Linked DNA regions of Homo sapiens: all the other regions are linked to region 2. The links are contacts of gene promoters, found by promoter capture Hi-C in human tissues and cell types (Jung and others, 2019). All regions are on one chromosome and are shown on one strand. Each heading gives the region's core, a stretch centred on a gene start or on the middle of the fragment in contact. The rest is flanking DNA. Distances are from core to core; before and after follow the strand shown.

Region 1 (4,828 bases), core at 496-2,995, 110 kb before region 2:
ACAAAAAGTTTCAAAGAAGAAAAGGTCATTTTAATTTGAAAGCCACATTTCGCCACAAGAAACAAAATTAAGAAAACACACCATTATATGGCATAAAATGTGTGGAGTATACATTCTAGTGTCATTTTTCCCATTCAGATTTTTTCTTGAAGTCCATTAAAGTGACATACTGGGTCCAATGTGGGCCCCCTATTGTTTCAGAATGCTATGGTTTTTGTTTGCGCCTGGTTTTATTAAAGCTGGGCAAACACAGGAGCAAACAAAGAAAACTCCCAAGATCCAATAGAAAAAAAATTAGCAAGAACATTGAAAACCAACCACCTGCACGCGAGACATAGGATTCATTCAGCTGGAAAGCCACTCCATGGTCTGGAGTGACTACAGCATGAAGATTTTAAGGTGTGACACGAAAGAGTCCTTGCTAGATTCAGTTGCCCATGTATACACGAATATGCATAAGAGAACAGAAATCATTACTGACTGTTTTGACTTCCTTCCTCAACCAAACTTACTACTTTAACCCCAGAAGAATAATGTGGGGCAATGCATTTCTGCAGGTGGCAAAGCTTAACAACAATTTTTTAAAGGCTTCTTGATACTGCTTTCCAACAGAGAAACTCTGGAGATGGGGAACCTCCTGAATTTCTTCTCTGTCTCAAAAAAGACAGGGAGATATACAGTGCAAGTTGAGTATATGTTGAACTAGAGTTTGGGTAAATGTCTAGAATATTTTACAGGAAAAGACATCTAAATGTTTATGTGCTCCAACTTTGGGAATAAGAATGGTTATAAAGCGAATTGCCGAGCCAGTCACTCAGGTTATTCAGAGGGTCACTATGATAATAGAGAAGTTCAGGAAGTGCTTTATCAGTAGCTGAAGCTCATAAACAGAACTGTAAAAGGAAACTTTGCTAAAGCCCAGCAAGGTGAAAGTTTCAAGGTTTCTACCAAGAGTGGCCAGTGTTTGACATACTACCTAGGAATACAGTTACATTCCGAGCTAATAATTTGGGATCCAGCGGTAAGGGTGACAGAAGCTTCTTCAAGCAGCTAGTAGCTCGGATTTGACTATCAGCAGCTTTACGGGTTCTCCAAACACCTGTGTCAATTCAGAAACAAAACCAGATGAGATCAAAGGGAAAACCAAGTATTGTGCAGTTTGTAGCACTATTCTCTCACTAAAACGATCACAACACACTGTGGCACTTTCTACCTTCTTGGCAATTATATTTTCCTCCTGGGCTTATACAGTATTTCTCAACAGAAGTGATAGAGTATTTTACATAGGACTATTCTTTTAGATGGGTCAAATTTTCCTTGTATGGAACTTTTCTAAAACCTGCAGATATTTAATGTCTCAAGCTTTGTCTTTCAAATGCCCCCAGCCACTCTGGCAACAAAAACCATCAACGTATGTCCAAACGTCTCCTGGTGGGGGTGGTACCACTTTTGGTAGAGAAGAATTTGAGAACTAGACCCAATCATAATTAAAAATATACAAGCAGTGTGAATAAAATAATTTGAGATTTTTCTTTTTGGACAGGGGTTTTGCATTTCTTTTAGAGATGTAAGAAATAAATTTGAGGACCTATGAATACTCTAATAAATTTTGTGGATTCTCTGTTCCTTACTGTATAGTGAGGTAAGTGAACTGAAGGGAAACTAATTTTAAAGTCAAAGTATGTTAAAAACACAAAAAACCTCTTAATAAATATTAAGCCACGTAACTGTCAGGGAAATAGAATGCTCAGGTGATTTAGTGTTTTAAGTGTCCAAGAAGGCAGCTGCTTTTCCAAACCAGTGATACAGTTTACTCTAAAAGTGACCCACCACACACCAAGAACCAAGAGAAATGGGCTCTCAAACTTGTCTTATAGGCAAGAGCTGAGGTCAGGTAGAAACAAGTATACAAAAAACACAGTGACCTCAGCTCTGTAGCCTCTCCCACCTGTTTCCTCATTTGAAAAATAAAAACACTGGACTGTTATTTTGGCCAGTGAATTTGTTATGGGAGTGAAGTATAAAAAATAAAGTGACTGAGAAAATGCCGAGAATATAAAAATGCTTTTAAGAATCTAAAATGGCCGGGCGCGGTGGCTCACGCCTGTAATCCTAGCACTTTGGGAAGCCAAGGCAGGCAGATTACCTGAGCTCAGGAGTTCGAGACCAGCTTGGGCAACACAGTGAAACCCTGTCTCTACTAAAATACAAAAAATTAGCCAGGCATGGCGGCGTGCACCTGTAGTCCCAGCTACTCGGGAGGCTGAGGCAGGAGAATGGCTTGAACCTGGGAGGTAGAAGTGGCTGTGAGTGGAGATCATGCCACTGCACTCCAGCCTGGGTGACAGAGTGAGATTCCATCTCAAAAAAAAAAAAAAAAAAAAAAAAAGAATCTAAAATGGATAAATGGATGCAAGGCATGGTAGCTCATGGCTGTAATCCCAGTAAGTACTTGGGAGGCCAAGGAGAGAGGATCACTTGAGGCCAGGGGTTCAAGACCAGCCGGGCAACATAGCAAGACCCAACCTCTACAAAAACTAAAAAAAATTAGCTGGGCCTGGTGGCATGTGCCTATGATCCAACTACTCAGGAGGCTGAGGCAAGGGGATCTCCTGAGCCCAGGAGTTTGAAGTCTCAGTGAGCTGTGATTGCGCCACTGCACACCAGCCTGGACAACAGAGTGAGATCACTTCTCTTGAAAACAAAAACAGAATCTGAAGTGGGAGGAGCAATTGGAATTATTAAATTATTAAAGGATTTGGTGACAGACTCTAATTATGTTTTCCTTATTCAAAAACAAGCCCCAAACTGAAGTAAATAAAATGTGAGGTATATGTAACTAAGTATACCTTACTACAGAGTGTATATAACTCATAGACATTCTTGCTCAAATGAGAATAGCTTCTGGAAGCACTTTGGCAAAAATAAAAAAAGGCCAAAGGTGGGGAAAAAACCTTCAAGACACAAAAACTGCAGTTCTCTCTCCCTCAGGTATGATCCAAGAATAGCTGTCTGCTTTGGAAGAATCCAGAATGGGTCAAGAGAATAGCAAATCCTGTGGCCCTGTATATGAATGATTCTAGATAGAATGTGGGATGTCACTGAGCAAAACTAGAGGTGGGGAAATTCATCTTATTCATATCACCTTGCAACACTACTAGAGTATTCTTTCCTTGCCCCCTAAAAAAGCTACTCAGGCTGGACTGGTAGTCAAACCTTTAGCCAGTGTTCTCAACTTTCCCATCTACACACCCTAAATAGCAGGGTTAGGACAAGGCGGCTCGGCGCTGAAGGCTCGCAGATGAATTAATTGAAATCTGTCTCAATTCTTGTGTGTGTTGTAGTATACCATAATATATTCATGTTTGCGTTTTTCAAATAAAATTTGACCATCCAAGAGGCTGAGTGATATACATCCTATCTTCACAAACCCCAGTTAAAGGGTTATGAAGTTAGAATATAATCAAAAGACTGTACCTTTTATTAAAGGGATGCTGTATTTGTCAACAGAAGGTGTTGAGAGGAGTTTCTTGGCCAGGACTGTTAAATCCTTCGATAAGGTTTTTGTTACAGTCGTCCAGGCTGAGATTTTCACTGGATCTCTTGGGGAATGTCGGGGGACCAGTGAAATCTAAGAGATCTTGAAGTGCTCGGGCATTACCAGTTCCATTTTGGTCCAGAGACACCCCAGGAATCATTTCACTCACTGGTGAAAATTCCGGGATAGAGATAAGCTCTTCTTTTGAAACAGGACTAGAAGAGATGAACGAGAGGGAGAGAGGCAGAAAGAGACAGACAGACAACATGGCACAATATATTAATTCTATTTGCAATATTTTGTTTTACTACTCTTCTAAAGAAGAAGGATTTAGAGTCAGAGTTTTTGTGTAACACACTGTAAAAAATACAAGTGGGCTCAAATCTGAGGAGGACAGATGGTGGACACGAGGCCCCATGTATGAGAACAGGGAAGCAGATTGAGCAGGGCTGTGATGGCCAAGGTCACATTGCCCAAAGGGTGAAAGGACAAAAACCCACAGGCACCAGCATTCTACCACAAAGAAGCAAGGCATTCCAGAACTTTCTAAATGGGACATTCAGACAGAAAGCCAATGCCAAAAGTTCAAAGCAAGTTGAAGAAGAACCCTAATTAACAGTGGGGCTCCCAGTGCTGCCTTTCTAGTAGTGCCACCTTGGGCGAATTGCTTTTCCTTCCTGCAGCCTCAGTTTCTTCGCCAGTAAAATGGGAACAATTGTTTCTCTCTGCCAGGGCTCCTGTGAGTGTGAATCTGATCGTGCTGAGAAGAGTTCATGTGGAAACGCCTGAAGTGCTCAGTTAAGGTTGGGGGGCCCATAATGAAAGGATCCCACCACAGCCCACGTCATCACTGGCAAAGCCAATCTCACGCTCTGCTTCCTCTCTAAAGTGAGGCTTCCAATCCACTCTGACTTATCCAGCTCCAGCCCAGCCAAGGCTGGTTTTCTTTCTCTCTCTCTCTTCCTCTCCCTAGAGATGGAAGGAGGAGTTTCATAATTGCGCCAGCTGTAAGGCCTAGCAAAGGAACAAATCCAGGCTCTGAAGAGTGGTGGGCTGAGGGCCTGTCACCAGGAATCTCTTAACAGCCAGAGTAAAGCTGCTGCCAGGTTCTTCTTTTTCTTCCTTGTGAGATCTTAGAGAAGAATCTAGAAAAACCAGAACTGCAGAAGCTCAGAGGAACTGTCTCTGGTGGAAATTCATCCTCCAGAGCTCCCATGGGGTCAGCTGAGAAGGCATCCTTGCTTAGCGAATTCCCTCCTTCCCCTTTCTCCTGAAAAACTCCCAAGAGCT
Region 2 (4,770 bases), core at 734-3,233:
TTTTCTAAGGAGACTTTACTTAAGTACCTGGCCTTGCTAACTCCCCCAAACAACAAATGGTGGTATCACCTGGCACCTAAATTAAACATTCCAATTTTACCATACCAACCTTAATGCACATAGGTGCTTATTTCACATTTTAAACCTTCACACATATTTTTCTATATTTCCAATTTCAAATGAAGGAAGATATCCTTAAGCTAATCTTAATATCAGAAGAGTGCATTAAATGATTCTACAATAGTTTCCAAACAGAACTTATTAAGAATCTCCCCCGCAAAAGTACCTCCTCCCCTTCCCCAATTTTGTTTCCATTAAAAAAAAAAAAAAAAAAACCCCTTAAGTTCCTTCAAATAAAATCCAAGATACACTGAAAACCCAATCATACCGCCCCTCCCCACCTCTCATGAGTACAACAGAACATCGAAACAAACTATTATTTAAGCTCTCAACCAAATAAAAATGCAAACTGAAACAACCTCTCCTTTTCAGTGTTTTATTATACAAGGTCGCCTCTGCCACGGAGGGTCGTTCTGGTGGGTAGTTTCCAGGTTCTTCCCTAGCAGATGCAGCTTGAGTGTTTCAAGCAAAAAGGATAAAAACAAAAGCACACATTTCAAAGGTAGTTATAACGTTATCCTGTGACAGTTAATGAATTCTGCCTTTAAAATAGCATAATGAAAAATACAAACTGGAAATGATTTAAGCTATCTCCTCCTCCTAAGAATGATGCAACTGAAGGCCCAGTCAGAAAATACTACCTCGCCCCCTCAACCCCAGTGAAAAAGCGTGTTTTAAGAAGATTTCTCTTGATTTCTTTCCTTTTCTTGGCCCATCGTATATAAAATACTCCCATCTTCACTATGTGATAATTCATCGAATTATAGTTTTGTGTGGTTTTTTAAATGCATATTAGACTGCAATAAAAAATGTTTTAAAAATAGCCTGCCTTATTAACTAAAAATAAAAAAGTTGTTGTCAGGAAAAACAGCATGAAATCGGTTTCCATGCTGCTTACACCCCCGCACTACCTGCAACCACTTTACAGAACGTTAGCATCAGACCTGCTTATCTAAAATCCTGCCAAATGTCCTCACAGTCTCCTCCGCTGCCTCGCTGGCTTCTGGGCAGCCAGGGACCAGCCCTCCATGGCTCCCAGCATCGGCAGCCTCGAGGGCTGAGAGCCTTGTTTGCCCCGCTGCCTCGATTGAGGGCCGCGGCCCGGCCACCTGAGCAGCGTTCCCAAGACAGGGAGCGCATCCGGGCGGGAGGAGCACCCGGTCCGGGGCAGACGCCTGGCCGCCCGGGCGAATCTGCCTCTGCCAATGGGTGACACGCCGATTTTGCCCCCTGGAAACGCCAAGAGGCGCGAAGCTGGGCCACCTTCGCCGCGGGCTGCAGCGGCGCTCGCGCGCGTTTCCCAGAACGCAGAGAGAGCGCGCGCGGAGGCCGGGGCAACCCCAGAACCCCGCTCGGTTTATCCTAACGACCCCCATGCCGGCTGCTCCTCGAGGACGGGGACTGGACCCGCAGCACCCCCTCAGGCACCTCCATCCCAAACACACCTGCCGCCCACCCTAAGCCACCCCCCATGTGTACCCACTCACCCAGGTCGCCCCAAGAAAGAACCCCGCCACTCGCACAGAGAGGGGTGCGGCCCTTGGATGCACGTCCGGACGATCCTGGGCCAGGGAAAGGGCGTTTATCTCAGCTCTGCGCCGTGCCCCTTCCCCCCACGCTCGAGGACCTTTGCCCTGGGCCGCCGGGCCCGCCCCCCCACAGGAACCCGAAGCCCTCGGGCGCCCGCCACACTCTGGGGATAATACCTTGAGGCCGGTAGTTGGGCTGAGAGGTCCGCACCGCGCCCGGTTCTGCGATCTTCCCTGGGAGAGAGGTTCCCCGCGCAGTCCCCTCAGGCCGGGATCCCGTCCCGGAGCCGCCGCCGCCGCGCTCCATCGGGATGCGCCGGCCGCACAGGCGCACTGCCAAGCCCGCCGCGCCGCACCGAACCCGCGCGCGTCCGCATGCGCACGCGTCCTCACGCAGCACGCGCGCAGGGCGTGCACGTGCGATAAGCGCACCGGTTACCACGCACAGCGCACGCAAGGCGTGCACGTGCGATAGGCGCACCGCTTCCACGCACAGCGCACGCAGGGCGTGCACGTGCGATAGGCGCACCGGTTCTCACGCGGCGCGCGCTTGTAGCGTGTGCATGCAATGTGCACAACAGTCCTCACACAGCGCGTACGGGCGTGCACGCGTCCTTACACGCTGCTGTACACAGTGCACACACAGAAGGCGTGCGTACGCACACAGTTCTTCATACGATGCTTACATGCAACATGCACACACAACGTGCACACCCAGCGTAAATGCATCTTCTCACAGTAGCAGATACACACTCAAAGCGTGTGTAGATGTAGGGTGCAGTTTCTCAGACACCGTGCACACACATCCTCACTCAATGTGTGAACACAGAGCACATAACGCGCACACACGTGCTCACTCAGCACGCACACGCTTACACTCACTGGGTGTCTGCATGCAAACTCAGCAATGCAGCCTTGGGAACAATTTCTGGCTAGGCCCCCAGGTGGGTGCCAGTTGGGCCAGTGACATCTGTGCAGACGCCAGAGGACCCGCCCTCCATGCATAGTTAGGTTCCAGTTTTCGAGGCGCACGGGTAATCAGTGTTTAGTGACGCCCCACCCTCAGCGTGCGGTCACCCAGAGAGGGACAGCAGCAAGCTATTGGGGTCGATCTTCAACTAAGAGGCAGCGGCACGCGCCGTAGGCCGACCTAGGCCTTTCAACGACACCCTACTCCGCAGCCAATTTGGTTCCTCTTCTCCTGAGGCGTAAATAATGCTGACTGAAACCTCCGCGATGCCGGGTGTGGTGGCTCCCGCCTGTAATCCCAACACTTCGGGAGGCTGACGCGGGCGGATTGATTGAGCTAAGGAGTTCGAGACCCCCGTCTCTACAAAAAAATTTTAAAAATTAGCTGGGCATGGCGACTCATCTGTGGTCCCAGCTACTTGGGAGGCTGAGGCGGGAAGATCGCTTGAGCCCGGGAGGTCGAGACTGCAGTGATCACGCCACTGCACTCCAGCCTGGGCGACAGAGACCTTGTCTCAAAAGCAAAATAAAACAAAAAACCTCTGAGGAGGATCTCTCCGAGAAGACACACAAGAAACTGCTAAACGGGTTGCCTCCTAAGTAGGCACTTTTACCACTGCCATGCACATTTATTATCTTTTCAAAAACATTGAAAAAGACATCTTGGCAGGGCCGGCTCAAGCCTTTTGTTTACCCAGGCCTGCCAAGTGATAACCCGTTCCCATGGAGCCCCAGGCTGCATGTTTTTTCTCGTTGGAAGGTGACCAGCCTGAAAGTTTTATTACCACTCCTGGGGGGAGATATACACGATTAAAAATGAAGCTGAATAATGGGTACAGGTTTTCTTTTTTGGATGAAAATATTCTAGGATTATGATGAGTGCACAACTAAGTATACTAAAAACTATTGAATTGTACATTTTAAGCGGGTGAATTTTATGGTCCCTTAATTATGTCTCATTTTTTTTTTTTTAATGTGAAGCTGAAACTCTCAGGAATGGGCACCTGTACTCTTGGCCAAAGCTGGGAAAGTCCCTTTGTGGCACAAAAAATGTTTGTGATGAACGTGTTCCTGACACGCCCAAAGGTGTGCCGGGAGTAGGGTTCAAGTGTGGTGAGAAAGCCAGGAAGTTTAAACATAAATGAGTAGGAAAGTGAGCAGGTGGGGGCTGGTACCCTGAGCTGTAATGAAAACTCGAACACATTGAGATTAAGCCAAATTAAGAGCGTGGGAGCTGTCACTTTCTCCTCCCTTATCTTAGGGACCTTTGGTGAGTTCAATTCATCCAACTCTTGAGCTCATGGACATGTGTGTGTAGCATCCCTCTCTACTTTTATTCTATTTTTGGGGTCCTTTTACTTTCCATTCCTCTCCCTAATTATAAACACCTCCTCTGATATCTTTGCAGCTGCAATTTTGAAATACTGTTTTGAAGATACGCATGTATTTTAATTGTATATAAATGACACTGCATAAAAGCTATCATTCTATTTGTTTTTCCTCTCTTGGCATTGTTCTCAATCTACACAAAATGATTAGCCATTCTATCTGGTTTACCCTTCTGTAAATTCCCTGTTCAATCCTTGCCCACCTTTCCACTGGGCTACTCTGGTTGATTTCCAGGAGTTTCTTGTATTCTAGATAATTTCTGGTTTAAATGTTGCAAATATTTTATCCTAGCCAACTAAGCTTTTTAAGATTGGTAAAATTTTCCTTAATTTTTATGACAAAATCCTATTAACATGTTTACTCCATTTACAATATTGCCCTATTTTTTATCAACTGTTTTTGAAAGTTACATTACAAATACTTCCATGTGTATTTCCTAAGATTATGAATGTTCTGTTACACATACTAGAGTTGACTACCAACTTAAGTTTCACATGGATACAGTAATTTTCTCTCCATTGGCTGTTCCTCCACCTTAGAGGTAGTTTTCCTCTTGCAAAATGCACTGTGGTGAGGCACCTTAAGGCTATGCAGGTACTTACTCTTCGTCAAAAATTCTCTCTAGATTTAGCATCCATTGATGGTTCTTGCTTGATCTGATCTCATAATGATTACGAAGTGATAAAATCCATAAATTTTTCACCTTATGGTTTGCATTTTAAGAAGTCTTAATACGAACTTCCCTAGTCCCAAGATACTCCCC
Region 3 (4,392 bases), core at 482-2,981, 81 kb after region 2:
TATGCAAAGTAGCACCATGAATATGATTAAGGGATAAAACAATTTACTACCAGCAATGAGTACTGCAGGATTCAGAGAAGGGCAAGATCAGTCTTACTTGCATAGGAAGGCTAGAAGAAAGATGTAGGGTCAGGGAGCAAGCTTTAAGACTTTTGGAGTGGCATTTAGATGGGTAGGAAGGATAGGCCCTAGAAAACAAGAGTCCAAGCATGGAGTACCCAGTGTAAGCAAAGATGTGAAGGCATGAATGACAAACAGGAAGGAACCAAATGAGATTTACTACTGCGCCAAGGCGAAATGGGGAGGATCCAGATTCTTGAGAAGTTGGAATGCCAAGATGAATTTATATTTGACCCTGTGAGCAAAGCTCTTTTTCAGCAACCAAATATTTCCTGAGCAAAGTGTATGTGCAATGCACTAGGGATATACATACAAATAAGATAATCTTCAAGAAGCTCATGATCTAGTGGGAAGGACAGACAGGTAAATAAATGATTATAATACATTCTAAGTACTCTGAATGGTTATATGAAACATGAAAATGGAAAGAATAGGACAATCTTTGGAGGAGGGAGAAAGTTGAGTTGGTTTTATTTTCAGTTTAGGGTGACTGCAGATATTTAAAATATAGAAATAAGACCTCTGGGGAAAATAAACAAAGCAGCTAAAAAATGCCCTATTTTTTCCATTCTACCAGTTTTCTATCCCCAACTGGGAGATTTTCATACCACTGACTGAAAATGGGCAAATCAGAAATAGGAATCAATTGCTCTTGATGTCTACGCAGCTCTTTTAACTGACCTGTCCAGTTAGTATATCAAATTCAATAGCAATCTCTGATTTCATTACCTTGCCCGATCGCTACAACTCTGGTATTTTCCTTGTTATATCTGATATGCCCCCTTTTTTTTGAGATAGGATATCGCTGTCGCCCTGGCTGGAGTGCAGTGGTGTGACCTCGGCTCGCTGCAACCTCCCTCTCCAGGGTTCAAGTTATTCTTCTGCCTCAGCTTCCCGAGCAGCTGGGATTACAGGCTTGTGCTACCATACCTGGCTAATTTTTGTATTTGTGGTAGAGACGGGGTTTCACCATGTTGGCCAGGCTGGTCTCTAACTCCTGACCTCAGGTGATCCGCCTGCCTTGGCCTCCCCAAGTGCTGGGATTACAGGCACGGGCCACCACGCCCAGCCTGATATGCCCTTTGTACTTTTTATGTGAGTGAAGTTCATCACCAATACCTGCTGATATTTCTATTCTAGTCTAGCCTAAATCTGTCCTTTTCTCATTATTACCATACAATTTTGGATTAGTTCCTATCACCTTAAAGGTGGATTCCAAAGTCCTACCTCTTTCAATAAGTATACAAGGCTTATCACTTAAAAATACCTCGTCTGCTCAGTAAGCATCAAAAATATCCACTAATAAATGCACTGTATATCCCTCTTGTCTTATTTTACCACAATGAAAAGAACAATTATTTGGGAGTCAAGAACTACAGTTTAGTGGCTATACTAATAACTAGATGAACTCATAACTACCTTGGTCAAATCATTTCATTGCTCAGGGATTTCCTGTTTCCTCCTCTATAAAATGAAGGATTAGAACCAAGATGATTTTTTTGTGAGACAGTTTTCTCTTCAACATTTCCTTATATGTAACATTGATGAGACCTTGTTTAACTGAAAATGAGCAGTGAGAGTCCTTCTCTAAAGAATTCCTTCATTTTGTCTGAGGTAGGCCTGTGTCATAATTCTAATCTCGTTTCTTTTGCTTATGTAAAGACCTAGTGACAATTCTAAATCATCCTACCATGAGGAATTTTAATTAGTATATACTAATTCAGAAGAAGGCATGTTTTATATAGGCCAACTTCTAATCCCAACATAGAATTGGTTAATACTGACTCATGCTGGCAAAGCAACTAGATTCCTCTGAAATATTTTTTCTTCTAGAGTAGTTATTAGATTTAAGCCCTACTTGACTGAACCTGAGAATGAAGAAATGTTGTTTATGTTCCTAGGACTATGCATTAAGAAACCTTTTTAAGCAGTTTACAGAACCTTTTAGACAAACAGACCACTTTAATAGGACAGAAGTCCCCATTAACTTTATCTAATGTTATTGACTTGTATTTGACCCCATTTATCGTATTAACAGGAACTTTAAAATGGGAAGAGACTTCTGGTTAAACATGGATATTTTACTCTCTACATTCTTCCAAAACCCCATGGAAATGACAATAATGGAAAAACTGCATAAACTCACAAGGACAGGAAGCAATAGTAGAAGATGTGCAAGTGGTAACTAACAAAGCAGACCAGAGAAAGCTAAAAATCTAAGCCTAAGGAAAAGAAGCCAATGAAAAATAAGCAAATTCTTGTCATTGAAATCTTTCCAATCAGCTTTCTAGCACCCGACTCTTAAAGAAAAGATAGCAAAAGACCCCCAGGCATTTGGAGAAAGGCTCTAAACATGAAAAACATCAAAATAAACAGAAAAATGGAATAAAGGGAAACAGAGACAATGTGAGGAACAGAAGATAACTTAAACACCACACAACACAACTCAATCTTGTAATTTATGTCCACTGAGGGAGCAAAGATAATATGGCACCTCACCCTTTTTAAAGCTTCTTGTTCTTGTTTAAAAAGGGTGGTGGGGTGGAGGAAGGAACAAGTATCCGCAACAAATAAACTACAAGGAAAAGATAAGAAATGAAGAAAGAGTTCATAGATGAAAAGACTTAAAAACATTATCAACCAATTGCAAAGTTGAGACCTTATATGTATGGATCCTAATTTAAACAGACTGCATAAAGAAACATAAATTTTAATAGTAGGGACAACTAGCAATTTGAACAAAGACTGGATATCTTTATGCTCATTTTTAAGGTATGATAATACAGTTGAATTATCTCTTTTAGGAGTCTATCTTTTTTTTGAGATGGAGTCTTGCCCCGTCGCCCAGGCTGGAGTGCACTGATGTAATCTCGACTCACTGCAACCTCCGCCTCCTGGGTTCAAACGATTCTCCTGTCTCAGGCTCCTGAGTAGCTGAGATTACAGGTGCCCGCCACCACACCCAGCTAATTTTTGTATTTTTAGTAGAGACGGGGTTTCACCATGTTGGCCAGGCTGGTCTCAAACTCCTGACCTCATGATCCACCCGCCTCGGCCTCCCAAAGTGCTGGGATTACAGGCGTGAGCCACCGTACCCAGCCAGGAGTCTATCTTTTAGAGATATATACTAAAATATTTATGAAAGAAATTCTATAGTGTCTGGGATTTCATTCAAAATATCAAGAGAAGAAGAAGGAGAACACTGATGAAAAAAGGTTGGCCATGAGTTGATAAATGTTGAAGCAGGGAGAAGGGTACAGGGGGTTCACTATATTCTTCTGTCTCTTTCTTAAATGTTTGACACTTTCCATAATTGAAAAATGTTTTAATGAAATAATCAGAGAACAAGAAAATCTAGGAAATGAAAAGCGATGGCAGAAACAAAAAGGTCAATAGAAGAGTTGGAAGATGGTTGAAGAAATTTCACAGAAAATAGAAAAAATGGAAAATAAAAGATGGAAAAATAAAGAAAATTAAGGAACAATTCAGGAGGTTTAACTAACATATTCCAAAGAGCAGCACTTACAAATGTAGAATAAATGACAAAAACTTTCCCAAGACTGAAGAAAGGAGTTTTTAGGTTGAAAGAGACCACACCTCATATATCATATGATATAGTTTTAGAAACCCACACTCAAGAATACCACTATATAAATTTCAGAACACCAGGAATAAAGAGTAGATTCTAAAGACTCCCAAAGAGGAAAAGCAGCTTACACACAAAGGACTGGGAGTGAGACCAGCAATTAACTTCATCACTGTAACACAGGAAACTAGAAGACAATGGAAGCAATACCTTCAAATATCTGGTAGAAAATTCTTTCTGACCTAGAATTTTATACTCAGCCAAATTATAAACTAAGTGACAGGCGGTAGAATAAAGCCATTTCCAGACATGGAGGGTCACAAAAAATTTAGTATCCATTTACTCATTCTGAGGTAGCTATGAGAAGATGAGTTCCATCAAAACTAAAAAGTAAACTGAGAAAAAGGTAGGCACAGAATTTATGAAAAGAGACTGAATACAGAAAAGAAGTGAAGGAAATGTGACTGTAGTATACTATTTCGTTCAGCTAGGAACAATTCTTATAAAGCTGTAACAATGAAAACATTATTGGGAAGATGTGAAAAGGGAAACTGTGAGTGGGTGGCAGCATGAGAGAACTGAATCTTAGTCTTCCATGTTAGAAAGGCAATAGATTATGTCTCCAAATGAAAACAAACAATTGCAATATAAAAGTGTTGAATATAAATGTAAATGGCAGCAGCTAA

Evidence for each region. Contacts are between HindIII fragments. The study calls those that stand out against the background at their distance.
Region 1: a contact is called between a fragment that was not itself captured here and the fragment with the promoter of MAP7D2 in region 2, in 2 of the 25 tissues and cell types used here (bladder and lymphoblastoid cells).
Region 3: a contact is called between a fragment that was not itself captured here and the fragment with the promoter of MAP7D2 in region 2, in 2 of the 25 tissues and cell types used here (IMR-90 fibroblasts and small bowel).

The regions. Positions count from the first base shown.
Region 1 is chrX:20,007,300-20,012,127 of GRCh38, forward strand. It overlaps MAP7D2 (MAP7 domain containing 2), which reads right to left. Exons shown (of 17, transcript NM_001168465.2): 16 at 3,478-3,753; 17 at 1-1,099. The coding sequence ends at 3,504. Among named protein-coding and RNA genes, the nearest start is that of MIR23C, 7.5 kb to the right of the region's middle. The HindIII fragment of the contact is 5,928 bases long and covers 1-4,709 here.
Region 2 is chrX:20,114,924-20,119,693 of GRCh38, forward strand. MAP7D2 (MAP7 domain containing 2) reads right to left here and starts at 1,984. Exons shown (of 17, transcript NM_001168465.2): 1 at 1,827-1,984. The coding sequence starts at 1,956. The HindIII fragment of the contact is 9,946 bases long and covers 1-4,770 here.
Region 3 is chrX:20,195,949-20,200,340 of GRCh38, forward strand. The region is part of intron 4 of RPS6KA3 (ribosomal protein S6 kinase A3); the gene reads right to left. Among named protein-coding and RNA genes, the nearest start is that of EIF1AX, 56 kb to the left of the region's middle. The HindIII fragment of the contact is 6,331 bases long and covers 1-4,392 here.